2 separate regions of the Homo sapiens genome follow, and region 1 is linked to region 2. Evidence: promoter capture Hi-C in 16 types of primary human blood cells and fetal thymus (Javierre and others, 2016). All regions are on one chromosome and are shown on one strand. The core of a region is centred on a gene start or on the middle of the fragment in contact, and the rest is flanking DNA. Distances in the headings are between cores, read along the strand shown.

Region 1 (4,742 bases), core at 1,626-4,125, 79 kb after region 2:
TGTTAGAATGCTAATTCGAGATCTTTCTTTCTTTTCAATGTAGGTGTTTAATTCTATAAAGTTTCATCATAGCTCTGTTTTTGCTGTACCACAGAGGTTTTGATGTGTTTTATCTCTACTTTCATTTGTTTCAAAGAATTGTTTTATTTCTTAATTTTATTGTTTACCCAAGAATCATTCTTGAACAAGTTGTTTAGTTTCCATGTACTTATGTAGTTTTGAGAGTTCCTCTGGATATTGATTTCTAATTTTATTCCACTGTGTTCTGAGGATACTTGATACGATTTTTTTAATGTTGAGACTTGCTTCATGGCCAAGCATGTGGTCGATTTTGGAGAATATTCCATGCATAGACGAGAATGTATATTCTGTGGTTATTGGGTAGAATGTTCTGCTAATATCTATTAGGTTCATTTAGTCTATAGTCCAATTCAAGTCCAGTGTTTCTTGATTTTCTGCCTCAATGATCTGTCCAGTGGTGTCAATGAGGTGTTGAAGTCCCCACTATTATTGCATTGCTATCAACCTGTTTTCTTAGGTCTACTAGTATTTCTTGCATGAATCTGGGTGATCTGGTGTTGGGTACATATATATTTAGAAGAGTTAAATCTTCTTGTTGTATTCAACCCTTTGTCTTACATAATACCCTTCTTTGACTTTTTTTTTTAACTGTTTTTGGTTTAAAGTTTGTTTTATCTGATATGAGAATGGCTATTCCCACTTGCTTTTGCTTTTCATTTGCATGACATATCTTTCTCTACCTTTTAACTTTGAGTGTGAAGGTGTCTTTAGCCAGTAGGTGGGTCTCTTGTAGGCAGCAAATGATTGGGTCTTATTTTTTTCATCCAATTTGCCACTCTTTATCTTTTAAGTGGAGCACTTAGGCCATTTACATTCAAGGTTAATATTGGTATGTGAGGTTTTGTTCCTATCATAGTGTTGTTAGGTAGTTGTGTTGGAGTTTAAATTGTGTAATTGCTCTATAGGATCTGTAAACTTTGCACTCATGTGTCCTTCTATGATGGCAAGTATTGTCCTTCTGTCTCCATGTTTAGAACTCCTTTGAGTATTTATTGTAGTCTAGTGGTGACAAATTACCTTAGCATTTGCTTGTCTGGAAAAGACCTCATTTCTCCTTCATTTATGAAGCTTAGCTAGCCAGGATTATACAATTCTTGGCTGGCTTTTTTTTTTCATTAAGGCAGCTAAAAACAGGCCCCCAATCTCTTCTGGCTTGTAGGGTCTCTGCTGAGAATTCTGCTGTTACTCTGATGGATTTTCCTTTACAGGTGATTTGACCCACCTTTCTAGCTGCCCTTACGATTTTTTTTCTGGCATTGACATTGGATAGTCTGATGACTATATGCCTTGGTGATGTTTGTCTTGTATAATATCTCACAGGTGTTCTCTGAATTTTTTATATCTGGATGTCTACCTCTTTAGCAAGATTAGGGAAATTTTCCTGAATTATTCCCTCAAATATGTTTTCCAGGTTGCTTACTTTTTCTTCTCTTTCAGGAATGCCTATAAACTGTAGGTTTGGTCACTTTACATGATCTCATATTTCTCAGGGGCTTTGTTCATTTTTTATAATTCTTTTTTCTTTATTTTTGTCTGACTGGGTTAATTCAAAAGACCAGTCTTCAAGCTTGGATATTCTTTCTTCTGCTTGGTGTAGTCTATTGTTAAAGCTTCCAACTGTACTTTGAAATTCCTTAAATGAACTTTCCTTCTCCACAAGTTCTGTTGGGTTTTTGTTTCTAAGATATTTACCTTTGTCTTTATTTCCTGGAAGGCTTTCATGGTTCTTTTGTGTTGGTTTTCAACCTTCTCTTGGATCTCGTTGAGCATCCTTACAGCCCATACTTTGAATTCTTTACCTGTCATTTATGAGTTCTCATTTTGGTTGGGGTCCATTGATAAAGAGCTAGTGTGATCCTTTGGTCACAACATTCTGATTTTTCGTGGTGCCAGAGTTCTTATGCTGATTCTTTCTCATTTGTAGAAGCTGACACTTCTTATTTTTGAATTTATTTTCATTCTGATTGTTTTTTTTTTCTCTATTATTCCCCCCAACCCTTGGGGGTGTGACTGTGGAGTACTTGGGCAGGGTCTTTTGGCTTCCCTTCTATAGCCCTCTGCACCTCGGTCAGCAGGTTTTATAGTGAGTTGTGCAGTTTGACCTGCAGGCCAGTAGGTGGTAGTTATGGGTAAGAATTGGCTGCAGCACAAGTGGATGGGTATGAACTAGACCTTTGGCTACTGTGAGGAACTCTCTGTTGTTTCAGGTGATGGGCTGGACAGTGGAGTGCCTGGCACCCTGAGCTATCTGTTCAGTGGATGGGGGACACAGCTAGGCAGAGCTGGATCCCCTGGCTTGCCCATAAATACCCCAATGGCAAGCACAGGCACCTGGGGAATTGCACTAGCTCTATGTCCTAGATAGGCAGGAGCACAATCTGTTTCCCTATCACACCCCTGTGCCAGGGCTAGTGACTTTCATTTCAGATGCACACTGTGGTCTATCTCTAGGCCACAGTGTAGCGGAGAGCCACGGAAATGCCAGTCCTATGGCTCTCTGTGGGAGTGGTTTTGGATATAACCTCCACTCAGTCCGATACAGACAGCTTTGTGGCTCCCCTGTTCCCCAGGGTGGTAACTGCTGGCGGGTGGGGAGGGTCTCTGCCTTTCAGCCTGTGTGGGCAGGTTTCAGTTGCAGTGACGTCAGCTGGTTGGGTCAGCCCACCTCAGGCCCTGGGGGAGTGGTCAGGTATCAGCAGTGCCACAATAGGCTAGATAATTCTCTAATTCCTAGGTCCCTAGATGGCCAGTGAATGGTATATATGAGTGCTGTAGGGACTGGACCAGGATCCGGCCGGCCCAGAGTTCAGGTGCTAGATGTGACAGGGAGGGGTAGACTGGTCCCTGGCCACCAGCCAAACTCTCAGGTGCCAGCAGGCAGAATGCTCAGGCAGTGAGAGCCTGAGGGCAGATTATAGGCCTTTGGGGGCTGGGCTGTCAGAAAGGCTCCAAGCTGCAGCTGAAAAGGTCAAGTGAGAGCTGATGCTTGTGCTGTGGCCCTTTCACTAGGGAAGGCAGACCCCCCGAGCTGCGACACTGGAGACTGGCAGCTTCAGAGCGCGTGGCCCATCGCACTTCCCTCCCACAGAAGCAGCGCTGGATTTTGCTGCTGGGGCATGTGCAGGTGCCTGGCCTCCCTGCTCCCTCCCTGGACCATGGGTGGCAGGGGTGGAGGCAGCAGTGGCAGTGACTACTGCATGACCCACAGGGCTTATCAGTGGTTTCTGGGGGTTGAGATTTCAGGGAAACGCTGAGCTATGGGGTGGCTTTGCTGGGGCCCTGTTGCCAATGCAGGCACACCCCATTTGGTGGGGAGCAGCAGAAGTAGGAAGCCATGCAGTGCGTAGTCTGCCTGCTCCTCCATACCATGGGTGCAGCATCTGTCTTTGGGGAATGCAAAAGTGCTCAGCCTCCCTCTTTGGCATGGTAGCAGCAGCTGGTATTAGGCTGTTCAGGGATCAAAAGCCTGTAGGATTCCACACAGGTTTGAGGGGTGCCTCTGTGCTGTCTCCAGGCAGCTCCCTGGAGGTCTGGGGTACTTGAGTGGTCTTTCTCATGTCTAGGATTTTAAAGGCCCATGGCAGAGGTGTGGACACCTGGGGTCTCTCACTTGCCCACCACTTGCCCACATTAGGGAGCCTCTCCCAACTCTGCCTGTACCAGCTCGGAGGGTGCCATCTTAGCTCTCCTAGGCTGTCTGTGATTCCTGTCATTTCTCTGTTGAATTTCAGCATGCTCTCTTAGATGATCTACTTGAAGTGTTAGTGTTTACTCATGATTTTGATTCCTCTCTGGGAGAGAGGTGCCCAGTAGCTGATCCCAGTCAGTCATCTTTAAGCACTTTATATTTTGAGGACATTAGCACTTTATTTGTGATGTATTTTGCAAATATTTTCTACTAGTTCATCAGTTGTCTTTTGATTTGTTTACATTTTTGCAATGCAAAAGATTTTTTTGTGTTGTCAGATTTATTTATTGAAAAGCTTTTATTTATTAAAAAACCTTTTCCTGTATCCAGGTGTATTAATTTGTTTTCACACTGCTATAAAAAACTGCTTGAGACTGGGTAATTTATAAAGAGGTTTAATTGACTCACAGTTGTGCATGGCTGGGGAAGTCTCAGGAAACTTACAATCATGGTGGAAGGTGAAGGGGAAGCAAGGACCTTCTTCACAAAGTGGCAGGAGAGAGAGAGAAGCAAGGGGGGAAGTGCCAGATACTGTCAAACAACCACATCTTGTGAGAACTCGCTCACTGTCATGAGAACAGCATGGGAGAAACTGCTTTCATGATCTAATCACCTCCCACCTGGTCCCTCCCTTGACATATTTGGATTGCAATTTGAGATGAGATTTGGGTGGGGACACAGCCAAACCATATCACCAAATGTATTAGTGCAGGTCCTCTAGAGAAACAGAATCAGTAGTTCCAATGGATCTCTCTCTCTGTCTCTAAATATATACTCTGTGTGTGTGTGTGTGTGTGTGTGTGTGTGTGTGTTTTCACATGATTTGGGGGGCTGGTAAGTTCAAAATCTGTAGGCCAGGTCAGTAGGTTGGAACCTCTTGGGCAGGAATTGATGCCGCAGTCTTGAGGTAGAATTTCTTCTTCTCTAGAAAACATTAATTTGGCTTTTAAGCCCTTTCAACTGATTGGATAAG
Region 2 (4,765 bases), core at 1,985-4,484:
GTGGTGTAGCATGGGTGGCAGCTGGTGAGGGGTCAGTGGTGCTCCCTGGCCCTGGGTCCAGGCACTCAGCTCTTTGTCCCACGCACCATGAGACCAGCAGCATTACCACCCCCAGTTCCAGCCAAGGGCAGGAGCACTAGGTGGGGTCTGAGGCCCCAGGAGCGCACGGAAATGCCTGCAGCCCTGCAGTGGCTGGGAGGGGGGCTGAGGGCCAGGGCCACCATTTAGTCACAGGCAGCATGTGGGGTGCTGGCTGCACCAGGTGGGTGCCCAGTGGAGGAAAATGGAGGCTCCCGGAGGTGGAGTGCTTTGCCTAAGGTCTCTCAGTCAGGGCAAGGAGTGACCCACCTTGGCCGCCCTGGGGAGATGGGCCTTGGGTGTGGAGAAGGGTGATCCCAAGGTGGAGACAGTGAAGCTCACCCAGACCCAGTCCTGGGTCGCGGTGCCTTGGCTGGGCAGGCAGCCCTCCAGGAGGGGGTTGCACAGTGGCCCTGGGTCCCAGGGGAGGCAGGATGGACAGGTGGTAAGAGCAGGCCTTCCCAAATCACGCTTCACCTCCAGTAACCATCCAGCACCCCACTCGCCCCCAGCCCCTCAGCTGGAACTGGGGGTGGTGATGGTGCTGGTCTCATGGTGTGTGGGACAAAGAGCTGAATGCCTGGACCCAGGGCCAGGGAGCACCACTGACCCCTCACCAGCTGCCACCCACGCTACGCCACCGTCTGCTGGCCGCGGCCGGAGGGGGCTCTGCCACCACGGAATTTCCAGGCCAGGCCTGCGAGGGAGCTGGCCTGGGGGAAGGCAGAGCTCTGCTCTGACCCTGGTGAGGCCTGAGACTTCCCATGCCGGGGACATGTGGTCAGCCTGCAGGAGCCTCTGGCCCTCTCCAGAAGTGGAAGGGCCCCTTGCTGGGGCATCTGCCGGGGGCCTCATCTCACTGCACGTCCCAACCTCATCCCCGAAATACCAGAACCCACGCAGTGGGTGCGGAACCCTCCCTGCCTCTGGGCGACCTCATCTGGCCCATATTCCCTGCGTCATACTCCCCGCCCAGTCTAGCTTCACCCTGGTGAGGTCTGGCCAAGGGGCTGCTGGGTTCCCATAGATAGGGTCCATGGGACTTTCCTGGATGGTGGCTGAACTTTCCCTGGGCAGCTGGACTTGCCTTGGCGATGGCTGTAGGTAGTCAGTGCCTACTTGGCTCCAAAGCTGGGGTTGGGCCTGGGGTGTCCCAAGCCGGCCTCTCTGGAGGCTCCTGAACCCCGGTCTCAGAGACATGACCCGGGGTGAAAGGCTGAGGGGTTCCTTCTCCCCTAGGTGCTATGTGTGGGAGGGGCCTGCGAGCCCTCTTACCCTGTGCTCCTACTCAGGCCTCACCCCAGGAGTGCCCTCCACCTCTGGGGCGGTGGGAGGCATCTGAGCAGCCTGCCCCTTCCAGGGTGGGGACGGACGGTGCCACCTCAGGCATCACCCCACGACTGGCCCCAGGGGACATGTGCTGGAGGCTCAGGGTACCTATGTGGCCTGATATCCGCCCCTCAGCTCCTCCGTCCCAGAATAGCACAGCCACAGCCACACTGGTTTAAATCATTTATCTCCATGTAGAGATTTGAGTACAAAAATAAACGGCAACAAAACAGAAGGAGTGTGAAATCCGGGGATCCACAGGGCTTCTGTCCTCCACCTTCCATGCAGCTGGGGGCTGCATCCTCTGTGGGGTGGCTTCATCCTCTGTGGGGTCTGTGGGGCCTGCTCCAAGTCATCAGCATTCCATGCCCACCTGGACCTGGTCCCAGACTTTCGGGGAAGCCCTCAGCCTGGGGCTCCTGGCACCCCCGTTGCGGCTGGGGAAGAGAGGTGTGGAATCCCCAGAGAAAGGGAAGGAAAGGCATGAGGGGCCTTCCCTGGGGGGAAGGTCACAGGCTGGGGGCTAAGATGACGGCCAGGAGGCTCAGGGCCAGCCCCAGGCTGAGGGCACTGTGGGCGAGGGCGGTGCGGGTGGGTGCAGCGTTGTGCAGCTTCTCATTGCACAGGTCCTCCTGGCAGCACTGGGTGGAGCTGGTGCCGCTGCTGACCTGGCCTTGCAGGGTGTAGCTGGGTGTGCACGACTCCGCACAGTCCTTCTTCACCAGATTCCCCCTCAGAGGCTCCACTGGGCACAGGTGAGTGTGGTCAGGCCAGGCAGCCACCTCTGCCCCCCACCTCCCCACAACCTTCCAGCCAACACCCACAACAGCCAGGGATGTCCCCCAGCCCCAGGGACACCTGGACAGATGCTACCCACCTGTGTTCGTGGTCTTGCAGAAGCGAGAGCTGGCCGGGCAGACCACAGAATGCTTGCAGTTGCTGGAGCTGGTGCACACGTGGCAGCGCAGGGTAAGGGCTGGCGGGGAGGGAGTCCGGCTCAGCGGGCCCAACAGAGGCCTCCTGGTGACTCAGCAGGGCCTGCTCCCCCACCTGCAGAGACCCCTCCTGGACAGAGGCCCTGCTGCCCTTGCCCTAGGCCCCCAAACCCGGGCTCTGGGTCCTGGCAGGGCATGTGCCCTGAGTGCAGCCTCAGGGGACATGTATTCCAGCCTGGGCCGGCTTGGAAGAGGTGTCCTGCCCTGCCCCTGTCTAGGGTGTGTTGCAAGCCTTTCCTCCAAGGTCTCAGGGAGCTCTGCGACTGCCAAGAGGACACTGGCTCTTGTCCCCACCCCAGGGGATGTCCCTGGAGGAGATGGCTATGTTTCTGAGGGCCTGACGGAGCTAAGGCCCCGGGGGCAGCCAGCTTGGCTGCTCTGAGCCTATGACAGGAAGGGCTTGGTGGCCTTTGGGCTGTCCTGGGCTGTGCTGGGGGAGACCTGGGGACCGGGAGGGGCTGGTGGCAGGGACTAGATGGCCGCTCTCCCAGTGAGAAGCATCTCAAGACAACCCCCTGCTCCACTCTCTCAGGGTCCGTGACTCCAGGAGTCAGTTCTAAGATCCTCAGATTCTGAAACATTGTAAATCTGACACTCGTTAAGATTCGGGCTCCATGTTGTTTTAAATTTGAAGAGTCTAGCACCCACAGTGTCGGGGTTCTCTGTGCCTAGATGTCGTCAGCTCCAGGCTCCTAGTATTTGGTGACCACACAGGCCACAGCCGCCCACCCGCCCGTCCCCTTGGCCCAGCCCCTCACCTGGCCCTGTAGCCACAGCCAGGGCTGCAAGGAGCAGCAATGCTGTCCTCATCTCTGATGTCGTCTGGGAGCAGTGCGGGCCCCTGCATTGCCAAGGCCTTATAGGCACGGGCTGGGCGGGGGTGGGCAGTCCGCCAGCCAGCGGCATTCTGCAGGGCTCTGTGCAAGCGTCAGCCCAGGACGGGCACCTGCCCCACCCTGCCTGGCCCACGCCCACCAGCCTGGCTGTCGCTGGGCGCTGCCCCTGCTGCCCCCCGCCAGGCAGAGGTCTGCCCTCCGCAACGGGGCCCAGTGGCCTCCTGGCCCTGCTGTTCCTGCTGCTGTGCCTCCATCTCTCCCACTTTCACTTCTCTGTCTCTGTGGGTCTTGTTCTCTCGCTGCCGTCCGTTCCTGGGTCACTTTGTCTCTGACCTGCCACCCGCTACCCCCCGCCCCCCACCCCCCACCATCCATCACCATCCTGTGTCTTTGTCCCTGCATTCCCCCCATAGTTCCCTCAATAGAGTTGCAGCCTGTGCCCGGTGCCCTGTGGGTGCCCGTGGGTGTCCAGGGCAGGGGAGGTAGGAAGGGCAGGTGCTGGTCCTACTCTCCTGGCTCTGGGCTCAGGGTTGCTGCCGGGGATGCAGAAGGTCCTTGAGCTGCAAGGGCTCGGGGTGGCTGTGGGCTGATGGGGTGTGTGAGGCAGAGGCAGAGGCAGAGGCCACTCCGAGGCAGGGAGGGCAGCTGGGGCAGCAGTGAGGTGAGCACTGGACAGAGTGAGGACTGTGAGGACCCGGCCCTCGAAGTTGCCTGGGGAGCCCTGTGGGCAGAAGGCCCGGGCTGTGGAGGCAGCAACTCCACCCTGCGTTGTGCAGGGAGAGACTGAGCCCTCCTGGTCTCCACCAGCCCTGCCTCCCGCCCTCCAGGGCCCCAGAAGCCCTCCCCGTGGGATTCCTTCCCCCACTCTCCAGGCCCCTCCTGCTACGTTGGGGGCAGCGCCATCCCGGCCACTTTGTAACTATTGCTCTAGGTGTCCCGGCTCCAGTCTCCCCAAAATCGTGAACTCTTTGGGGCTGGGCCCCAGCACCCAGGGCCTCAAAGCAGGTTCTTGGTCTGCTGCCCGTTGAGTGGAGGCCAGTCCCCGCCTTCACCCTCTTTATACTCACAGGAGGGACTTTCTTTCCCTGGAGACGGGGTCTCTGAGCACCCACCGCCTCGCGCAGGAGCCCACCTCTTGGGGCCCCCATCCACCTGCTCAGCCCAGCACGCTCTGCCGCTCGCCTGTGCTGGGCAGCACCCACCTGAGTGGTGTGGAGGGGCCCACAGACTTGCTTTGCCCCTGCCCTGGCTAGGCTGAAGGTGAGTGGGAGCCGGGGCACAGATGGAGGTCAGCCCTGGGCCCAGCCTCCTGCCGCCGCTGCCACGTGGCTGATGAACAGACAACAACAGGCCCAGGGCAGGGCAGGGCCGGTTCCGAGGAGGGTGGTCCTGGGCTGGGCTGAGGCTTTTGGGAGCACCGTGGGTACTGGGGCCAGTCAGGCCTGGGCTTGAGACAGACCCTCTGGCCCTTCCTCCCGGCATCTCTCCCTTGCTGAGCCCCACGTCTCAGATGCCGGGGATCCCAGC

What was found. Contacts are between HindIII fragments. The CHiCAGO score rates a contact against its expected background, and 5 or more counts as called.
Region 1: a contact is called between a fragment that was not itself captured here and the fragment with the promoter of LY6D in region 2, in 1 of 17 cell types (total CD8 T cells). The highest score is 5.7, in total CD8 T cells.

Annotation. Positions count from the first base shown.
Region 1 is chr8:142,862,849-142,867,590 of GRCh38, forward strand. No RefSeq gene overlaps it. Among named protein-coding and RNA genes, the nearest start is that of CYP11B1, 15 kb to the right of the region's middle. The HindIII fragment of the contact is 2,373 bases long and covers 1,690-4,062 here.
Region 2 is chr8:142,783,305-142,788,069 of GRCh38, forward strand. LY6D (lymphocyte antigen 6 family member D) reads right to left here and starts at 3,235. Exons shown (of 3, transcript NM_003695.3): 1 at 3,161-3,235; 2 at 2,285-2,383; 3 at 1,578-2,152. The coding sequence starts at 3,212. The coding sequence ends at 1,917. The HindIII fragment of the contact is 15,715 bases long and covers 1-4,765 here.